Regions from separate parts of the Homo sapiens genome. Here regions 2, 3, 4, 5 and 6 are each linked to region 1. Evidence: promoter capture Hi-C in 16 types of primary human blood cells and fetal thymus (Javierre and others, 2016). All regions are on one chromosome and are shown on one strand. The core of a region is centred on a gene start or on the middle of the fragment in contact, and the rest is flanking DNA. Distances in the headings are between cores, read along the strand shown.

Evidence for each region. Contacts are between HindIII fragments. The CHiCAGO score rates a contact against its expected background, and 5 or more counts as called.
Region 2: a contact is called between a fragment that was not itself captured here and the fragment with the promoter of SHLD1 in region 1, in 1 of 17 cell types (naive CD4 T cells). The highest score is 5.6, in naive CD4 T cells.
Region 3: a contact is called between a fragment that was not itself captured here and the fragment with the promoter of SHLD1 in region 1, in 1 of 17 cell types (monocytes). The highest score is 5.1, in monocytes.
Region 4: a contact is called between a fragment that was not itself captured here and the fragment with the promoter of SHLD1 in region 1, in 10 of 17 cell types (activated CD4 T cells, monocytes, total CD8 T cells and 7 more). The highest score is 8.9, in activated CD4 T cells.
Region 5: a contact is called between a fragment that was not itself captured here and the fragment with the promoter of SHLD1 in region 1, in 4 of 17 cell types (naive CD4 T cells, activated CD4 T cells, fetal thymus and 1 more). The highest score is 12.3, in naive CD4 T cells.
Region 6: a fragment that was not itself captured here is called in contact with the fragment with the promoter of SHLD1 in region 1 in 9 of 17 cell types (naive CD8 T cells, activated CD4 T cells, naive CD4 T cells and 6 more); the score reaches 11.3 in naive CD8 T cells.

What each region holds. Positions count from the first base shown.
Region 1 is chr20:5,748,890-5,751,911 of GRCh38, forward strand. SHLD1 (shieldin complex subunit 1) reads left to right here and starts at 1,512. Exons shown (of 3, transcript NM_152504.4): 1 at 1,512-1,590. RefSeq lists an enhancer at 1,338-1,387. The HindIII fragment of the contact is 6,647 bases long and covers 1-1,804 here.
Region 2 is chr20:5,996,572-5,999,593 of GRCh38, forward strand. MCM8 (minichromosome maintenance 8 homologous recombination repair factor) reads left to right here. Exons shown (of 19, transcript NM_032485.6): 19 at 1-2,406. All of the region lies in intron 3 of MCM8-AS1 (MCM8 antisense RNA 1), which reads right to left. Among named protein-coding and RNA genes, the nearest start is that of MCM8-AS1, 7.7 kb to the right of the region's middle. The HindIII fragment of the contact is 5,698 bases long and covers 1-3,022 here.
Region 3 is chr20:5,522,147-5,525,168 of GRCh38, forward strand. No RefSeq gene overlaps it. Among named protein-coding and RNA genes, the nearest start is that of LINC01729, 14 kb to the left of the region's middle. The HindIII fragment of the contact is 1,252 bases long and covers 1,147-2,398 here.
Region 4 is chr20:5,541,799-5,544,820 of GRCh38, forward strand. GPCPD1 (glycerophosphocholine phosphodiesterase 1) reads right to left here. Exons shown (of 20, transcript NM_019593.5): 20 at 2,641-3,022. Among named protein-coding and RNA genes, the nearest start is that of LINC01729, 33 kb to the left of the region's middle. The HindIII fragment of the contact is 196 bases long and covers 1,490-1,685 here.
Region 5 is chr20:5,952,015-5,955,036 of GRCh38, forward strand. It overlaps MCM8 (minichromosome maintenance 8 homologous recombination repair factor), which reads left to right. Exons shown (of 19, transcript NM_032485.6): 2 at 1-149; 3 at 410-514; 4 at 2,594-2,676. The coding sequence starts at 2. Among named protein-coding and RNA genes, the nearest start is that of MCM8, 2.9 kb to the left of the region's middle. The HindIII fragment of the contact is 1,792 bases long and covers 497-2,288 here.
Region 6 is chr20:5,560,590-5,563,611 of GRCh38, forward strand. It overlaps GPCPD1 (glycerophosphocholine phosphodiesterase 1), which reads right to left. Exons shown (of 20, transcript NM_019593.5): 16 at 876-941. Among named protein-coding and RNA genes, the nearest start is that of GPCPD1, 49 kb to the right of the region's middle. The HindIII fragment of the contact is 8,610 bases long and covers 1-3,022 here.

The DNA.
Region 1 (3,022 bases), core at 262-2,761:
TCTAGAATTGTAAACAAAAGCCAATTAGATCTTTAAGCTAAATCTTAATTTTGTAATTTTGTCTTTAGACAGTCTCTTTTTTGTGGTCCTGCAGTTGTGGCAGTTATGTAGTTATCTGCATGCATCAGAATATTACAATATTTTCATCCTCATCTTTAATTTCTACTTTTCATATTTTTAAAATGTAGACATTCAAGTTTATTTATTTATTTATTAAAACCATTTTGTAGGCCGGGCACGGTGGCTCACGCCTGTAATCCCAGCACTTTGGGAGGCCCAGGCAGGCGGATCACGAGGCCAGGAGATCGAGACCATCCTGGCTAACACGGTGAAACCCCGTCTCTACTAAAAATACAAAAAATTAGCCGGGCGTGGTAGCGGGCGCCTGTAGTCCCAGCTACTTGGGAGGCTGAGGCAGGAGAATGGCGTGAACCCGGGAGGCGGAGCTTGCAGTGAGCCGAGATGGCGCCACCGCACTCCAGCCTGGGCAACAGAGCGAGACTCCGTCTCAAAAAAAAAAAAACAAAACCATTTTGTAGAGACAAGGTCTCCACTGTGTTGCCCAGGTGGGTCTTGAACTCCTTGCCTCAAGTAATCCTCCCATCTTGGCCTCCCAAAGCAGTGGGATTACAGGGGCATGCCACCCCACCCTCTCCAAGACATTGAATTTTATTTATTTTTTTTTTTGAGACGGAGTTTCGCTCTCGTTGCCCAGGCTGGAGTGCAATGGCACGATCTTGGCTCACCACAACCTCCACCTTCTGGGTTCAAGCGATTCTCCTGCCTTAGTCTCCCGGGTAGCTGCGATTACAGGCTGCACCACCACACCCAGCTAATTTTGTATTTTTAGTAGAGACAGGGTTTCTCTGTTGGTAAGGCTGGTCTCGAACTCCCGACCTCAGGTGATCCTCCTGCCTCGGCCTACCAAAGTGCTGGGATTACAGGCGTGAGCCACTGAGCCCAGACGAATTTTTTTTTTTAAAAGGCAAGGTCTAGCTCTGTTGCCCAGGCTGGACTGCAGTGGCAAGAACATGGCCAACTGCAGCCTTGACCTCTCAGGCTCAAGCAATTCTCCCACCTCAGCCCCCCAACTACCTGGGCCTACAGACATGTGCCACCATGCCTCGCTAATTAAAAAAAAATTTTTTTTGTAGAGACAGTGTCTCCCTATGTTGCCCAGGCTGGTCTCAAACTCCTGGCCTCAAGTGATCCGTCTCAGCCTCCCAAAGTGCTGGGACTACAGGCGTAAGCCACCGCTCCCGGCCAACATTTAAATTTTTGAATATTTTTTCTGTTCCCTTAGGGTTTACCAAGCACATTTATCGACAAGCCTCCTCAGGAAATTGCCCAAAATAGCCACATGTGGCAAGCCTCATTGACAGGCCAAAAGCCTCAGTCAACATGGCCGCGACCGGCTTCCATTGCCCTTCACTGCCCGCAGTAAGGATGGCTCCGGTGACTTCCTTCGAACCTCACATTTCCCATAAAAAAGATGGCGCCATTGCTTCCGCGTTCCGGTTGCGGATGGTGAGTGTGTCGGGGGGCTTGGCGGCTTTTCTCCTCAGTTTTCTGGAGTGCTTTGGAGGAGAGGTAAGCGCGGGATGGGATGGGGGGGGGTTGGAGTGGTGGGGGCGGGGGTCACAGCAATGCATCTGATCGTTCTCTCTCAATTAGGAAGTTATGGAGGCTTTCCTAGGCATGTCAGGATTTCCTGCTAGCTCCCCGCCCCTTCCGCCCCAACACACGGTGTCTGCAGCCTGTGCTTTGGGGAATTTTGGGAATTTGTGGATAGTGAGTATGGATAAGCTTCGGTTTTGTTGTTTTTTTTTAAATTTTTTCAGTGACCTGCCACTTCAGGAGGTTCTGCTAAAAAACCAACAAACAAAAAAACAGCTTTCTTGGGAAATTTCTATTCACCTACTAAGTAAAATTTGCCCATTTAAAGCGTAAAAAAAAATCAAGCCTAGCATAGTGGCATTCGCCTGTAGTTCCAGCTGCTCAGGAGACTGAGGTGGGAGAATCGCTTGTGCCCCGGAGTTCCAGGCTGCAGTGAGCCCAGATCGCGCCACTGCACTCCAGCCTGGAAGACAGAGCAAGACAACGTACCCAAAAATAAATAATAAAGGGTAACATTAAGGGTTTTTTTGTTGTTGTTGACAGAATTGTGCATCTATTACTGTGATCTCATTTTAGAATACTTTCATCACTCCAAAGAAAAATCCTGCCTCCAGTAGCAGTCATTCTACATTCACCACGTCCACTCCGCCTCAAGTCCTAGACAATTGCTAGTATACTTTCTGTCTGTATAGCCTTGCCAATTCGCACGTTTGATATAAATGAAATCATACAGTGCAGCTGGCTTCTTTCATTAAGTATAATGTCAATGTTTTTGTGACTAGCTTCTTTCATGACTTTTGTTCTTTTTTTAAACGGAGTCTCATGACTCTCACTCTGTAGCCCAGGCTGGAGTATAGTGGCACGATCTTGGCTCACTGCAACCTCTGCTGCCCAGGTTCAAGCTAGTCTCCTGCCTGAGCCTCCCGAGTAGCTGGGACTACAGGCGCCTGCCACCACGTTCGACTAATTTTTGTATTTTTAGTAGAGACGAGGTTTCACCATCTTGGCCAGGCTGGTCTTGAACTCCTCAGCTCTTGATCAACCTGCCTCAGCCTCTCAAAGTGCTGAGATTACAGGTGTGAGCCACCACGCCCGGCTATCTTCTTATACTATGTATAATATTTTCAAAGCTTGTCTTTGTATCATGTGTCAGACTGTTAGCAAATAAATAAAACTCTGTAAACTATTTTAAAGCGGTTTATTCTGAGCCAGTATGATTGACCATCGCCCAGAGAGAAAACACAAACCCAAAAAGTCTTTAGTAAGTGATCCCGAGGCAGTTGGGTTATAGTTTGTTTTTTTTACATTTTAGGGAGACAGGAGTTAACAGGCAAAGACATAAATCAATACATGGAAGGTATACATTGGTTAGACCCAAAAAGGTGGATATGTCCAAGGGTGGTCT
Region 2 (3,022 bases), core at 387-2,886, 250 kb after region 1:
CATTTCACAAAAGTCAACACATAAATAATATCAACCAAAATAAAGTGGTAGACAGAAGAGAAAATATACTAATTTATTGTTCAAAGAGGAAAATAAGTCTCAAAGGTTAAGGCTATTATATAAATTTATTTTTAAAAAGACATAAACCTACATTTTCAGAAGAAGAAGTTCCATGTTTCCTTAGATTATGTATTTAGCATCCATTAATCACAGGGCCAAACTAACAACAAAAGTTGTTTAGCTTTCCCTTACAATCCAGCTTTTATGGGTGTGCAAACATCACATTACAGTCCCTCCAACCACAAACCCCAACATATAGTATTTCACTTCCTGCCCAATAGTGGGTGTCCCCACACCTTTCAACCACTGTAGCAACAAAGCTCTGGCCTAGGCTTTTCACTTGCTTCTTTACTGCCTGACTGACTTTGGTGTTTCCTCATGTGGCCTGGTGTGGCATGGCACGCCCTCTTGGGAGATGAAAGTAATCTTCCATAGGCAATTGTTTCTGTGTCACCATTGCTGATTAAAACAAATCCTAAGTACAAATGTCAGAACAGAAACATGCAAAGCAAGAAAACATTACATCATGAAAGTTTCTTTTTTTTTCTTTTTTCTTTTTTTTTTTTTTTTGAGACAGAGTTTTGCTCTTTTTGCTCAGGCTGGAGTACAGTGGCGCGATCTTGGTTCACCGCAACCTCCGCCTCCTGGGTTCAAGCGTTTCTCCTGCCTCAGCCTCCCAAGTAGCTGGGATTATAGGCATGTGCCACCATGGCTAATTTTGTATTTTTAGTAGAGACGGGGTTTCTCCATGTTGGTGAGGCTGGTTTTTAACTCCCGAACTCAGGTGATTGCCTGCCTCGGTCTCCCAAAAAGTGCCGGGATTACAGGCGTGAGCCATTGTGCCCAGCCAAAAGTTTCTTTTTCAAGAGATGGTGGTCTTGCCATGTTGTCCAGTATGGACTTGAACTACTCAGCTCAAGCAGTCCTCCCACCTCAGCCTCCTGAATAGCTGAGACTACAGGCATGCACCACTACACCTGGCTGCGAGATGAAATTTTAAGAGATGGGGGTCTTGTTCTGTCGCCCAGGCTGGAGTGCAGTGACATGATCAAGCCGTGATCTCCTGGGCTCAAGCAATCCTCCTACCTCAGCCTCCTGAGTAGCTGGAACTACAGGAATGCAACACCATGCCCAGCTAATTTTGATTTTTAGTAGAGATGAGGTCTTCCTTTGTTGCCCAAGCTGGTCTCAAACTCCAGGGCTTCCTGAGTAGCTGAGACTACAGGTGTGAGCCACCATGCCCAGCCTCCTCTCTTTTCCAATATTGTGTTAAGTAAATTGTATTGGTGGTAATCAACTTGATCATTTCATTTTTAGGATAGAGATATCAAGGTGAGGGTATAACTGAACGAGAAGAGGAATAAACACCACCCTGTGATTGATGGATCTTTATAGCTCTCCTTTGATAAAGAAGGGAAATATCGTACTTACATTAGCATGTTATAGTTGCTGTTGTTATACAGAAGAATATTAAACAATATTCATATATTGTTTATGAATGCATTGAATTCATAAACAATGGTATGGATATTGACTAGCCAAAGAGGTGGATAAATGTAGATACAATGATACGGTGATTTGGTATTCAGTGTCCATTCTGCTCTCCTAGTGTGCCTTCCTATAATGCAGGGGCTGGAAGGTGAGAAAATAACCACATTTCCCAGACTCCCTTTGCAGGTAGATTTCCAGATGTGAATTGGGTTCCACTGATCAGACACCCATGTGTGAGATTTGGAATGCAGAACTGAGGAGAGAGCCATCTTCCTCTTGCTTGTGTTCTGGTGGCATGTGTGGTTGAGGAGACATTTAATTTCCCTGCAGCAGAATTCTTGCAGTCAGTTGTTGAGGCAAGTGGCGTGGTGGATGCAACCCTGATTCTTCACCTTTCTCATTATTGTGGGGTAGCAGCGCCTCTGGCAAGCCAGACAGACCTGCAGTGTTTTTCTGGGAGTTAATTCTGGAGACCCAGTATGGAACCCACTCCTAGCCCTTGTGACAATATTGCAAGCATCCAGTTCCCTGTTTTACAGTCCTTTTAAATGTGGCTAGCTACAGTAGTTTGTGTTTCCTGCAACTAATCACTCATACATCTGTATCTAAAGCACTCCACCTGGGTCATGTACTATACTTAAAATTATAAGGCAATATTAATTCACAAAACTACCTACTCGTTTTATTTAACCCTCAGAAGAACTGAAAACAAAAGCTATACCAGGCTTGCTCTAGAGCGTGGGCTTGGGAATGGAAAGGCAGAGTGCACCTATTGAATTCCATCATCAGTTTTTCTATACCATGGAGTTACTTACCATGTGTATACATAACACTGATTAAAAATTTTAAAAAAAAGGTTAAAACAAAAACTGAGCCAGATTCTGACATTTAAATCAGAATTATTCTTAGTACATAGACTTGCAAAGTCACTGAATAATTCCTTGGGACTACAGACTCTTAGTCTTTGCTTCTAGAAATGTATAGTAATTTCAACATGTCATATATATAGAGAGAGTATATATGTGTATATATATACACACACACACACACTATATAGAGTATATATATACACTCCATATACAGTATATATACTAGTGTGTATATATATATACACTAGAGTATACACACTCTAGAGTATACACTCTATAAAGTATATATATTATATATACTATATATTATATATACTATATACTCTACAGTATATATATACACTATAGAGTGTATATATATACTATACAGATATGTATAGAGTATATATACTCTATATATACACTATATATAGTCTATATACTCTAGAGAGTACAGTATATATATATAGTGTATATATACTCTATGGAGTGTATATATATTCTCTTTCTCTCCATATATATATATATAGTAATCAGCTTCCTCAGGTTGAAACATCTAGATATATTGAAAACACTGGATAGTCTGCAAACTCCTCTTCCTTAGAGAATGTATATTATCTTTA
Region 3 (3,022 bases), core at 523-3,022, 230 kb before region 1:
AGGCCCCCAACACCACCAGGACTGTCAGACAACCATCAGGTGATGGTTAGGTGGTTGTTAAACTGTCTCTCTAAAATACTAATTGGTCACAGCTGGCACAAGGGAACGGCCGTCTCCCAATAGATACAAAACACCTGAAGCTGGTGATTAGCTGCATTAGCAGTTTCCTGATAAGATCTCAGGAGTTGGGTGAATGAGCTCAAGCATGCCTACTAAGAGGCAAAATGGCAGAGTTTAACTGGTATATGACCTTCCTCTAGGAACATTCCACTGGTAAGTGAAAAACACTTCAAGTGAGCATGCATACAACTTCAGTAAACACACTGTGCATGCAGACCCTCCCAAGTGCTGGTAGGCCACTCTGCATGGGGATATCCCACCCCAAGGGAAGAATAAGGGAAAGAGAGACACAACCCTCCAGAATCATGCCAATGTACAAAACCCCAAGTCAAAGGGCAATCTCTCAAGTTTCCTGCTTGGCCCTTTTCCAAGTGTACTTTACTTCCTTTCATCCCGCTCTAAAACTTTTTAATAGACTTTCACTCCTGCTCTAAAACTTGCCTTGGTTGCTCACTCTGCCTTCTGCCACTCAGATGAATTCCTTCCATCAAGGAGGCAGGAATTTAGTTGCTGCAGATCCATATGGATTCACCGCTGGTAACAGCATCATGAAAGATAGTCATTTTGATGGAGGAGGAAGGAGAGATGTATTCCTATCAATAGCCCTACAGTTACCAGTCACTGAGTAAAAAGTGAAGAGTTAATATTAATGCAAGAATCCAAAGTATTTGCAAGGAAGTAGAATAGGAGGAACCTGTTTTCACTGGGATGGGGGTGGCGGGCAAATGTCCAAATTAGTATGGCCACTTTGGAAAACAGTTTGGCCTTATCCAATAAAGTTGAACATGCAACTCTTGCCCTGCAATTCCACTACTACATAGCACTTTGCGCATGTGTCCTGGAAGACAGGTAAATATTGATCAAGGCAGCAAAACTGAAAGCAATCCAAATGTACATTAACAGAAGAATGGAGAAATGATATGCGCTACAGCCACTACAGTGGAATACTGCACAGGCTCCATGCTCCAACATGCAGAAAAGTCACAAACAAGGTGTGGAGATCCAGAAGAACAGTAGGGCATAAAAAGCTTGCAAAACTATTCCATGTAATCTGTGCAAATACAAAGAATTGAAGCAGACTACAAAGAAAGGCAATTGATTGAAAAACATAAAATTCTGGATAGTGGTTGCCAAGGTGGGTACAGAGAGGTCTGCAAAAATAATCACAGAAGTTTGTTTCTGGAGCTGAGCAATGGCTACACTGGGATGAGTTCTGGAGTTAGTTCTCTTTCTGCATAACATATATGTGTTTATATGTACTTTCATGTTGGCTACTGTATTTCTTTTTTTTTTTAGAGACAAGGTTTTTCTCTCCATCGCCCAGGCTGGAGTGCAGTGGTGCTATCACAATTCACTGCAGCGTTGACCTTCCGGACCCAAGTGATCCTCTCACCTCAACATTCCAAGTAGCTGGTACCACAGGTATGTGCCACCATACGCGACTCATTTCAATTTTTTTTTTTTTTTTTTTTGAGACAGAGTCTCACTCTGTTGCCCAGGCTGGAGTGCAATGGCATGATCTCAGCTCACTGCAACCTCCACCTCCCAGGTTCAAGTAATTCTCCTGCCTCAGCCTCCTGAGTAGCTGGGATTACAGGTGCGTGCCACCACGACCAGCTAATTTTTGTATTTTTTAGTAGAGACAGGTTTTCACCATGTTGATCATGCTGGTCTTGAACTCCTGACCTTGTGATCCGCCTGCCTTGGTCTTCCAAAATGCTGGGATTACAGGCGTGAGCCATCGCACCTGGCCTAATTTTTGTATTGTTAATAGAGATGGGGTTTCACCATGTTGGCCAGGCTTGACTCGAACTCTTGGCCTCAAGTGATCCATTTGCCTTGGCCTCCCAAAGCGCTGGGATTACAGGCATGAGCCACCATGCCCAGCCTCATTTTTTTTTAACCTTTATTTTGTAGAGACAGGGTCTCCCTATGTTGCCCAGGCTGGTCTCAAACTTTTGGGCTCAAGTGATCCTCCTGCTTCAGTCTCCTGAATAGCTAGGACTCCAGGCATGCACCACCATAACTGGCTACTTTTATTTTTTGGAGAGATGAGGGTCTTGCTCTATTGCCCAGGCTGTTCTCAAACTCCTGGTCTCAAGTAATCCTCCTGCCTCGGCCTCCCAAAGTACTGGGATTACAGGTGTAAGCCACTTCTCCCAGTCCTATATTTTATTTTTTTTTTAATGGAGAAAAAAACTCACAGACAGAGACCTTGGCTTCCCATGATAATTCATCAGAACCTGGACCACAGTGCTTCTTCATCTTTCTCTAGACAAGCTTTCTGCTAAAATCAACTTAGGAAAAACTTGCCACATTCAGACATAAAAGTTAGCAAGAAAGAATGACCTGGAGAGAAGTACAAAAATCATACAAAAAGAAGAATTGAAAAGAAAAGAAAAAGCAAAGCAAGGCTTATGGAGAACATTCACCAGAAAAGCACTGCCATAGCCTTGACAACATGGCAAAACCCCATCTCTACAGAAAATACAAAAATTAGCCAGGTGTAGTGGTGCATGCCTGTGGTCCCAGCTACTCGGGAGGCCTGAGCCCAGGAGGCAGAGGTTGCAGTCAGCCAAGATCATGCCACTGTGCTCCAGCCTGGGGCAACAGAGCAAGACCCTGTCAAAAAAAAAAAGAAAAAAGAAAAGAAAAGAAAGAGAGGAAGGGAGGGAGGAAAGAAGGAAGGAAGGAAGGAAGGAAGGAAGGAAGGAAGGAAGGAAGGAAGGAAAAGCATTGCCTTAGAGCAAAGACAACTGTGACCCGAATTGTTGCAACAAATTATGATGTAATAATCCTGAGATCTAGCCACTTACAGAACAGAAGGGAAGACAGCAGGCTGCCTTGAAATCGAGCTGGCAGATGTGGGTCATTGGGGGATGGGTATAATATGAGAGAAGCT
Region 4 (3,022 bases), core at 338-2,837, 210 kb before region 1:
TGTAGCAATGAGATCTTGCTGTGTTGCTCAGACTAGTCTTCATCTCAAAGGTCTGGGATTACAAGTGTGAACCACCACACCCAGCCTGTTATCTGCTAAAAGATTTGGGGTTTTATATTTTAATCTATGATTCTGAGTTACTTCTTGTATAGGTGTAACGTTCACTCTCGTGGCATTGGATGTCCCATTGCTCCAGCATTTTTTTCTTTTTTTTTTTGAGACAGGGTCTCACTCTGTTGCCCAGGCTGGAGTACAATGGCACAATCTTGGCTCACTGCAACCTCCGCCTTCCAGGTTCAAGCGATTCTCATGCCTTAGCCTCCTAAGTAGCTGGGATTACAGACGCATGCCACCACTAATTTTTGTATTTTTAGTAGAGATGGGATTTTGCCATGTTGGCCAGGCTGGTCTCGAACCCCTGACCTCAAGTGATCCACCCACCTCGGCCTCCCAAAGTGCTGGGATTACAGGCGTGAGCCACCACGCCTGGCCGCTCCAGCATCATTTCTTAAAAAGACCATCCTTCTTTCAATCCTTCATTGAATTGCCTTTGCATGTTTGTCAAAAAGCATTTGGCTGTGCTTGTGTGGATTTTTCTATTCTAGGCCACTGATCTATGTATCTATCCTTCCGCCGGTACCAGTTTTGATTCCTGTAGTTACGTAAGTTTTAAAATCAGGTAGAGTGATTCCTCCCACTTGCTTCTTGCTCAAAATTGTTTTTAGCTATTCTAGTTCCTTTGCCTCTCCAAACAAATTTTAGTTTTTTCACCCAGGCTGGAGTGCAGTGACGTGATCTCGGCTCACTGCAACCTCCACCTTCCAGGATCAAGTGATTCTCCTGCCTCAGCCTCTCGAATAGCTGGGATTACAGGCTCCCGCCACCATGCCCGGCCAATTTTATATTTTTAGTAGAGATGGGGTTTGACCATGTTGGCCAGGCTGGTCTCGAACTCCTGACCTCAGGTGATCAGCCTCCCAAAGTGCTGGGATTACAGGCAGGAGCCACTGCGCCCGGCCCCTGCTATATTCTTAATGTAGCAAATTAGTCCAACACTGATCAGACTCTCAAGCGAACTCTTCTGGCATTTGATAAAGTATCAAGTTATTTTAAAATATTTAAAAGTTATTTTAAAAGTTATTTAAAAATATTGAGCAACTACCCTAACACACATAACATAAAGCTATACTAATCGCATGGATGACTCCCAGGTACCACACACTGAGACAGAACTTGGGAGGAGGTGGAATGGGAGCAGGTTTGGTAGAAGGAAGGAGGAAGGAAGAGCTCTGTTGAGGTATGTTAAGTGCGAGATGCTTATTAGACCTTAAAGTGGAGATGGGGACACAGTTGGATGTATGAATCTAGAACTTATTTGAGAGGTCTGGTCTGCAGAGAGATACATTTAAAACTGTGAGATGCCACCGAACTTTTGCTGAGCTTTTATAGCTTTCTTCCTGTTAAATTAAGTAGTTTGGCTTTGCAAGTAAGCTTCAGAAGTTCACCCATCCTACCCACATTTCTATTTTCATGTTTAAGTAAATTTAGTAGAGGACTAGATAAATTATAGTATCCCTCTTATTATTCCTATACTAATATTACTTTCCTCATTACTTTTAAACACTTGACTTTCATGTCATTTCCCTTCTTAACAGTCATTAACTTTTATCTCCTATACCATGCTAAGCTTCTCTCTGGCATTCACAATATATTCTCCATTGTCAAAATGGCTCCTTCATTCCTCCTGAACACACCACGAATATGACCCTGGCCTCTGACTTTATGCAGACTGCCACCCAAACTGGTTTCACAACTCCCTTGACCTGTACCTCTATCTGTAAGAGCTTGAGAACTCTATGAAGTCTCCACCTGTTCCAGCCTATCATCTCCCCTCCTCATCTCCACATACATTTGCATGGTAGTCTTCATCATATGGTCTCTTGCATTTTAAAAACCTCAAACCTACTTCTCAAGTTGTACAAGCTCACTAACAGGTCATGTTGGAATGAGTTTCCAATCATGAGTGCCAAAATCATGCAGTATTTCCAATACAAATACTTTGCTTTCTACCCCAAAAATACATGATCCAAAACTAAAATGCAAAGGAATAAATCAACTGTATCCAAATCTCAATTAATAGGACTCCATTATCAGCCTAGAGTACCAAGCCAGTAATAATGTGAGAGGCAGAATTTAGTCAGAGGCATAGAGAGCGAGCCTAGGCAGAAAGGGCAATGAGTGTCCACCAGGACTAATGAGGCGACCTGCCCCAGGCCACACAATTCCTATCCAAGGCAGCGCCCTTTTCACTACCAGTCCACCAACTGCGGGACTTAGGTGTGCTGTCCCAGGAAGAGGCAACCAGGCCTGGGGGAAAAACTGTACCTTCTTCTTCCACTTAAATGGAATAACTATCCCTGTATTTCTCCTCAGTCTGCATGGAGCAAAAAATTGGTTTTAGCATAATCCATCAAATACATGACTCCAAGCAACCAGGACAGAGAACTCCATTGGTAAACATACAAACCCATGCAAACACACACACGCATATGTGAGCACACACATACTCCAGACATTATGGCCAAGCATGCCATACAAAACTGTGTTTATCGTGAAACAATCTGAGTTAGGAAACTAGGATTGTTGCCACCACCATTTATTTATCTAGTTCATAACTAAGGATAGAACACTATAGCAGTGCTAGAGATGCAAAGACGTCCCTGCCCTTAAGGGGCTTACAATCTTACTGGAGAATATAACAGGCACATAAGAAGCTGGACTACAAGGAAGCATGAGCTAACAAATGCCAGACTTCGGAAGGCAGCGTAGTTTGAGAACATGGGATTCAGAGTCACAAAACCCACATCCTAGTCCCAACCCAGTATATCAGTTAACCTCTCTGGGTTTTTTCCCAGCTACAACATTAAATAGTAAGACTGAGAGGCTGTCTGCATGTTTCCATCATCATTCAGATCAAAAGCTGAGATGAGCTTTAGGGAGGAGGCTGCACCTGAGCGGGACA
Region 5 (3,022 bases), core at 143-2,642, 200 kb after region 1:
GATGAATGGAGAGTATAGAGGCAGAGGATTTGGACGAGGAAGATTTCAAAGCTGGAAAAGGGGAAGAGGTGGTGGGAACTTCTCAGGAAAATGGAGAGAAAGAGAACACAGACCTGATCTGAGTAAAACCACAGGAAAACGTACTTCTGGTAGGTGAGGTCAATGATTGTTCAATTTTTTTCACTTAAGGAAGCAATTCACGTCTATCATACAAGGCGGTTTATCTCATACTTCAGTTTGTCTTTTATTTCATGCTACTCCTTAGTAAGTATTTGAACATTGATGTCCCAGATTTTTACTAAAACCCCTAATTTGGATACTCTATTAATGAGAGTCTCATTTGGAAAGAGAAGCATATTGGAAAAATGTTCACTCTGTTTCTACTAACCTAGTATTTTATTTTTTTCAGAACAAACCCCACAGTTTTTGCTTTCAACAAAGACCCCACAGTCAATGCAGTCAACATTGGATCGATTCATACCATATAAAGGCTGGAAGCTTTATTTCTCTGAAGGTAGGGTTTAAAAAGTACAAAAAAGCACCATAAATCATATTTTCTTAACTTGTCTTTGGATGCTACATCTTGTATTACTGTAATTCATTTACTAACATATACCTGCTTTAATCTTAGTTCACCCAAACAATTAAATGATGTTTATGTTTCAAAAGCATTTTAGACTTTATATCAGTCAGGAAAGCAGAAACCATACTAGGTATTTCAAAAAGGGGACTTAATACAAGAAATTGGATACAAAAATGGAAGACTGAAAGAGCAGAAAGGAAATATTGAGGTAACTCCCCAGAAAGTAGTAATTCAGGAAGCAGCAACCATCCTTATGGCTAAGAGACTAAAAGAAGTTCTGAGGTTACCAGAATGTGGGAATTCAAAGGTTGGAGAGGTCACAGCATAGCTGTTATTTTGACTTTTGAGGGGCACCCTACAAAGCTATGCTTGGACTTCTGAAGGCTACCTTACAGAGCTGTGCTTAGACCACTAAGGCAAATGAAGCTGGTTGCCACTGGTAACTGAGGGGGCATGACTCAGTGGTGCTTGGAACTGGAGGCTAGCACTATCGTTATCTTCTGCAGCTGCAGAGATGCTGAAAAGAGTTGGAAACAAGAATAAATTCCTTTCTCTTCCTGCCACCTTCCCGTCTCTAAAGTGCCTTCAATTGGCAGAATTTAAAGAGAATCTGAGACATGTAGGGTACAGATCTGAATTATAGCATCGCAGAGCAGGAAGTAGAACAGTGGGCCTGAAATCAAGGGACAATAACAAATACAGCTTTGTGTAGAAACACAGGTAAGGAATCTCCCTTTGATAATTAGGAATACCAATTAACCTACATCAGTCTGTATAGGTGCAGGGAACTGTCTTTTTTGTGCTGTTAAAATACCCATTTGTTTCTTATGTCTCATGAGGGGTGTGTGTGTGTGTGTGTGTGTGTGTGTGTGTGCATACTTTTTATTTTTTTTTGAGATGGAGTCTTGCTCTGTTGCCCAGGCTGAAGTGCAGTGGCGCGATCTTGGCTCACTGCAAGCTCTGCCTCCCAGGTTCACGCCATTCTCCTGCCTCAGCCTCCCGAGTAGCTGGGACTACAGGCACCCGCCACCACGCCCGGCTAATTTTTTCTGTTTTTAGTAGAGACGGGGTTTCACCGTGTTAGCTAGGATGGTCTTGATCTCCTGACCTCGTTATCCGCCCGCCTCGGCCTCCCAAAGTGCTAGGATTCCAGACGTGAGCCACCGCACCCAGCCGCATACTTTTTTTTTTTAGGAAAACTAGACGTTTGAGGTCCAGGACCCTCCCTGCCCCATACCAGGCATGCAGTAGTCATTTTGTGAATGAATAGAGTACTTTACAAATGTTTTCTTTATTGGAAATCTGTTCGTTTTTTTCCATCAATAGAATCTGTTTCATGAATGATCTTTTGTTCCTTTAGGATGTATTAGCCACCAGCACTCCCATTGCTCCCCTAGCAGATAGCTCAGAACACTATAAGTGATCTTTGGACAGTCCTAAAGATGGAGTTCAAGAGGTGCCTTAGCCTTCACCATCTGTGCTTCCAAACTACTTTATTGTACTGTTCTTCTGTGAGAGACATATTTGAAAATGTAGAACTTTAGAGTGTTAAAAAAAAAAAGGCTTTTCAGTTTTGCCACCAGGGTCAAGTGTTGGTCTGTCTCCTGATCTCAGGAAAGACTGTGATTGTGATTGTCTTCAGCTCTGTCAGAGTAAGAGCTTAGTTTATGTGTCTGGCTTTGGCTTTATTATAATTTTTAGTTTAAGCTTATTGTCTAAATTATCTGAACTAACATGTCCTATTAGGTGTCAAAGATGCAAAACAAAGTTTCCCAGATAGTGGGGCTTTTAGAGAGAGAGAGTTTCTGTCTGCATTTCACATTATGCAAACCTAAATTTGTTTTAGAATCTTAAGTTTACATTCTATACTAGTTCTTATATGAATGTAATCAAAATACAAAGCAATTAGAAAAAAATCATCTACCATGTATATAGTGCTGCTTTTGTCTCATGAAAAATGTGCATGTACCTGTGTGATTATTTGTGCTAATGCCATATTTGTTGGATTAGTTTACAGCGATAGCTCTCCTTTGATTGAGAAGATTCAAGCATTTGAAAAATTTTTCACAAGGCATATTGATTTGTATGACAAGGTAAGATTCCTCTACAGCAAAGCTACCAGTCATGTGCCATCTTACCAATGTATTCGAGGTACTTGTGATTATGATCGTAGGCACTGGAGTCAGACTTCCTTGGTTCAGACCTCAGTTCTGCCACTTACCTGCAGTATGGACTTTGATTAATTACTTCTCTGTGCCTCAGTTTTCTTTCATTTGGAGATAGAGGTATAAATACCTACCTCAAAGGATTGTTAAGAGGCAGTAATACATTAATATATTTAAAATATCAGAACCATGCTTGGCACAAAGCTTATACTTATGTCATACTTACCATTATCACATATAAACATTGTATGCTTTCTCAAAGTCTATAATAGAA
Region 6 (3,022 bases), core at 232-2,731, 190 kb before region 1:
TTAAATGTTTTAAGTATTAGTCACTGAAATAATTCTAGAAGCTCAGAAAACTAAAAATCACATTATTAGGGAAACCTTAGTCGAGAATTCACTACATTAATGAGGACCAGCTTGTCACAAACAGCATAATGAGGGCAATTACAGATTATTCTGACCAAAACAAATTCAAGGGTATTGCTCAATGCCCAATCATGACATCTGAATTAACTACTTTCAACACCCCACACTCTACTACCCCAAGCCCCTTGCAATGCATCCCATCAATCTGCACATATTCTCTCTGATATATTCAATAGTTAGCTAATTGTTTTCCACAACTGAAATATAAGTCCCAGGAAGACAAGGCCTTATTCTCTTTTGTGGACTACTTGTCCCGAGCACTTGGAAAATGCCTGGTCCATAGCAGCTTTTCAAAAAATATTTGTTGAACAAAAAAATGACTAAATTTGTAAGTGATTTAAAACAATTGCAGAAATTTTTTTCCTGAATAATTATTACTAGCTACTGTTAACAACAGAAAACTGCTTAGAAAATTATTTAAAACATTCTTATATGGGAATAAGAAAGTAAAAACTAAATCCAAGAGATGTGACTATCCACTTTATAAGTATCTCCCCAAAACCACCATATTGTTCACACAAGACACATGTAAACTGAAATTTCTACAATATTCATCATTAATTTGAAATACTCACATACTAGCATGAATGCAAGATATGTTTTATTTAAAGGGTCCAATAAGCATTGTGCTTGGTGGAGGAAGCCACAATGAGATTTCAATTTAGCTTATTCCATTAAAATACAAAGACAGGAATGAAAGAATTTTTTAGATAGGCATAGAGAGTATAGAATGTGCTGCATAGAGAATTACTTACCCTTTGCTGGCAGATCCATTTTATTTCAATGTTAAACCCTACATCTTCTGGCAAAGACTCTAAAACCTACAGTTTTGTTTGTTGGTAAATTTTGTTTTTGATGAGATGGATAGCAGAATAAGAAAACAAAAAAAATACAATTATTACTAAAAATAATAAGAATTTATCATTAGTAGCAATAAAATGTTTTGTGCATAATGCACAAACATATTTTGTCATACTCAAAGTGACAACCTGGTAGATGATTATGTTAAATAAGGTCAAAAGAAATTAAGCAGCAAAAGCAGGAGTCTCAGGCACTGTCTGTGATAACTGACAAACACAAAGATGGTCCTTAACCTCAAATCCTTTTCGCCATTACTAGTAAACATCCAAAGTGAACTCTAACACAATAGGCAACATCATGAATTCAAGACATTTGTCATGTATTCTACACTGCATTTGGGGATGTCAATCTACTTGCCTAAAATCTATGAAAAACCATGATGTTTAGATTGTTTTGAAGGTGATGATGCTAAACAAATCCCATAACTTCCTGAAAAGATGTATCCCCAAAATGAAAACATTATGCTACAGCTCATAAATCAAAAAAGTTATAATTTATATAAATGACAAATGCTATCAGTGTATCTAAACTAAATTATCTAGACACTTTGCCATCAGATTATTTTGGCAGTTTTAACTAGAAAATGACATTGAAAATATGAAACTTGGTTAGTAACCTCCAAAGAACGGACTTGTTCAGTCTTAAACAAACATGAAGCCCAGACATATACATAAATATGCTCAGGGCAAAATGAATTTGACAGAGATTATGTTATATTATTATTATTTTTGAGGCATAGTCTCACTCTGTCACCCAGGCTGGAGCACAGTGGCACAATCTCAGTTCACTGCAACCTCCACCTCTGGGGTTCAAGCAATTCTCCTGCCTCAGCCTCCCAAGTAGCTGGGATTACAGGTGCCTGCCACCACGCCTGGCTAATTTTTTGTATTTTAGTAGTGATGGGTTTCACCATGTTGACTAGGCCAGTCTGAAACTCCTGACCTCAGGTGATCCACCTGCCTTGGCCTCCAGAAGTGCTGGGATTACAGGCGTGAGCCACTGTGCCCGGCAGATTATTTTAGATACTTCAAAATTTTAGGTATCAAAGAACATGTATAGCACATATGGTATTTAATTTTTAACAGCAAATAAATGCATACAAACAGAATAATATAGTGGTAAGAACACAGCCCAGGAGTCTGGTGACCTGGCATCTAGCTCTGGGCCTACTCTTAACCAGCTGCATGTAAAGTACAGCATCTAAAACAGTTTGTATTCAATTTTGTGTGGGACTTTTTTAATTTTCTCCTATATCTAAAGACTTATTTAACGTATCTGTCATATTTTTGCTGGACTAATGCAAAATGAGAAAGACTAGGACAATATATTAGTGTTGAGATTGCTAAAAGGCAAATTTGCCAGAAAAGTGTCTATATAATGAGATTATATTTGGTATTATTTTGGCGTTAAAATTTCTTTTTTTTTTTTTTGAGACGGAGTCTCGCTCTGTCATCCAGGCTGGAGTGCAGTGGCGCGATCTCGGCTCACTGCAAGCTCCGCCTCCTGAGTTCACGCCATTCTGCTGCCTCAGCCTCCCGAGTAGCTGGGACTACAGGCACCCGCCACCACACCAGGCTAATTTTTTATTTTTAATAGAGACGGGGTTTCACATGTTAGCCAGGATGATCTTGATCCCCTGACCTCGTGATCCACCTGCCTCGGCCTCCCAAAGTGCTGGGATTACAGGCGTAAGCCACCACGCCTGGCCAAAATTTCTTTGTGATTGAATTATAATGGCAAAGTGAGTAAATGAGTTTGCGTGTGTGTTTTAACTTATTTGACTAAAAGGCTGTCAAACCTGTATCACAATTTAAAATTTTTTTCCTGGGAATCATGAGATTTCTAAAACACAAATGATTTTAGAAAATTGAATTAGAAGAAATGATCTTACTTAGATGGGCTTCATAAGTACCTTAAAAGTTATACAAATTACATTTTACTTATTTATTTATTTTTGAGACAGGATCTCTCTCTGTTGCCCAGGCTGGAGTGCAGTGGCACAATCACAGCTCACTGCAGCCTCAACCTCCTGAGCTTAAAC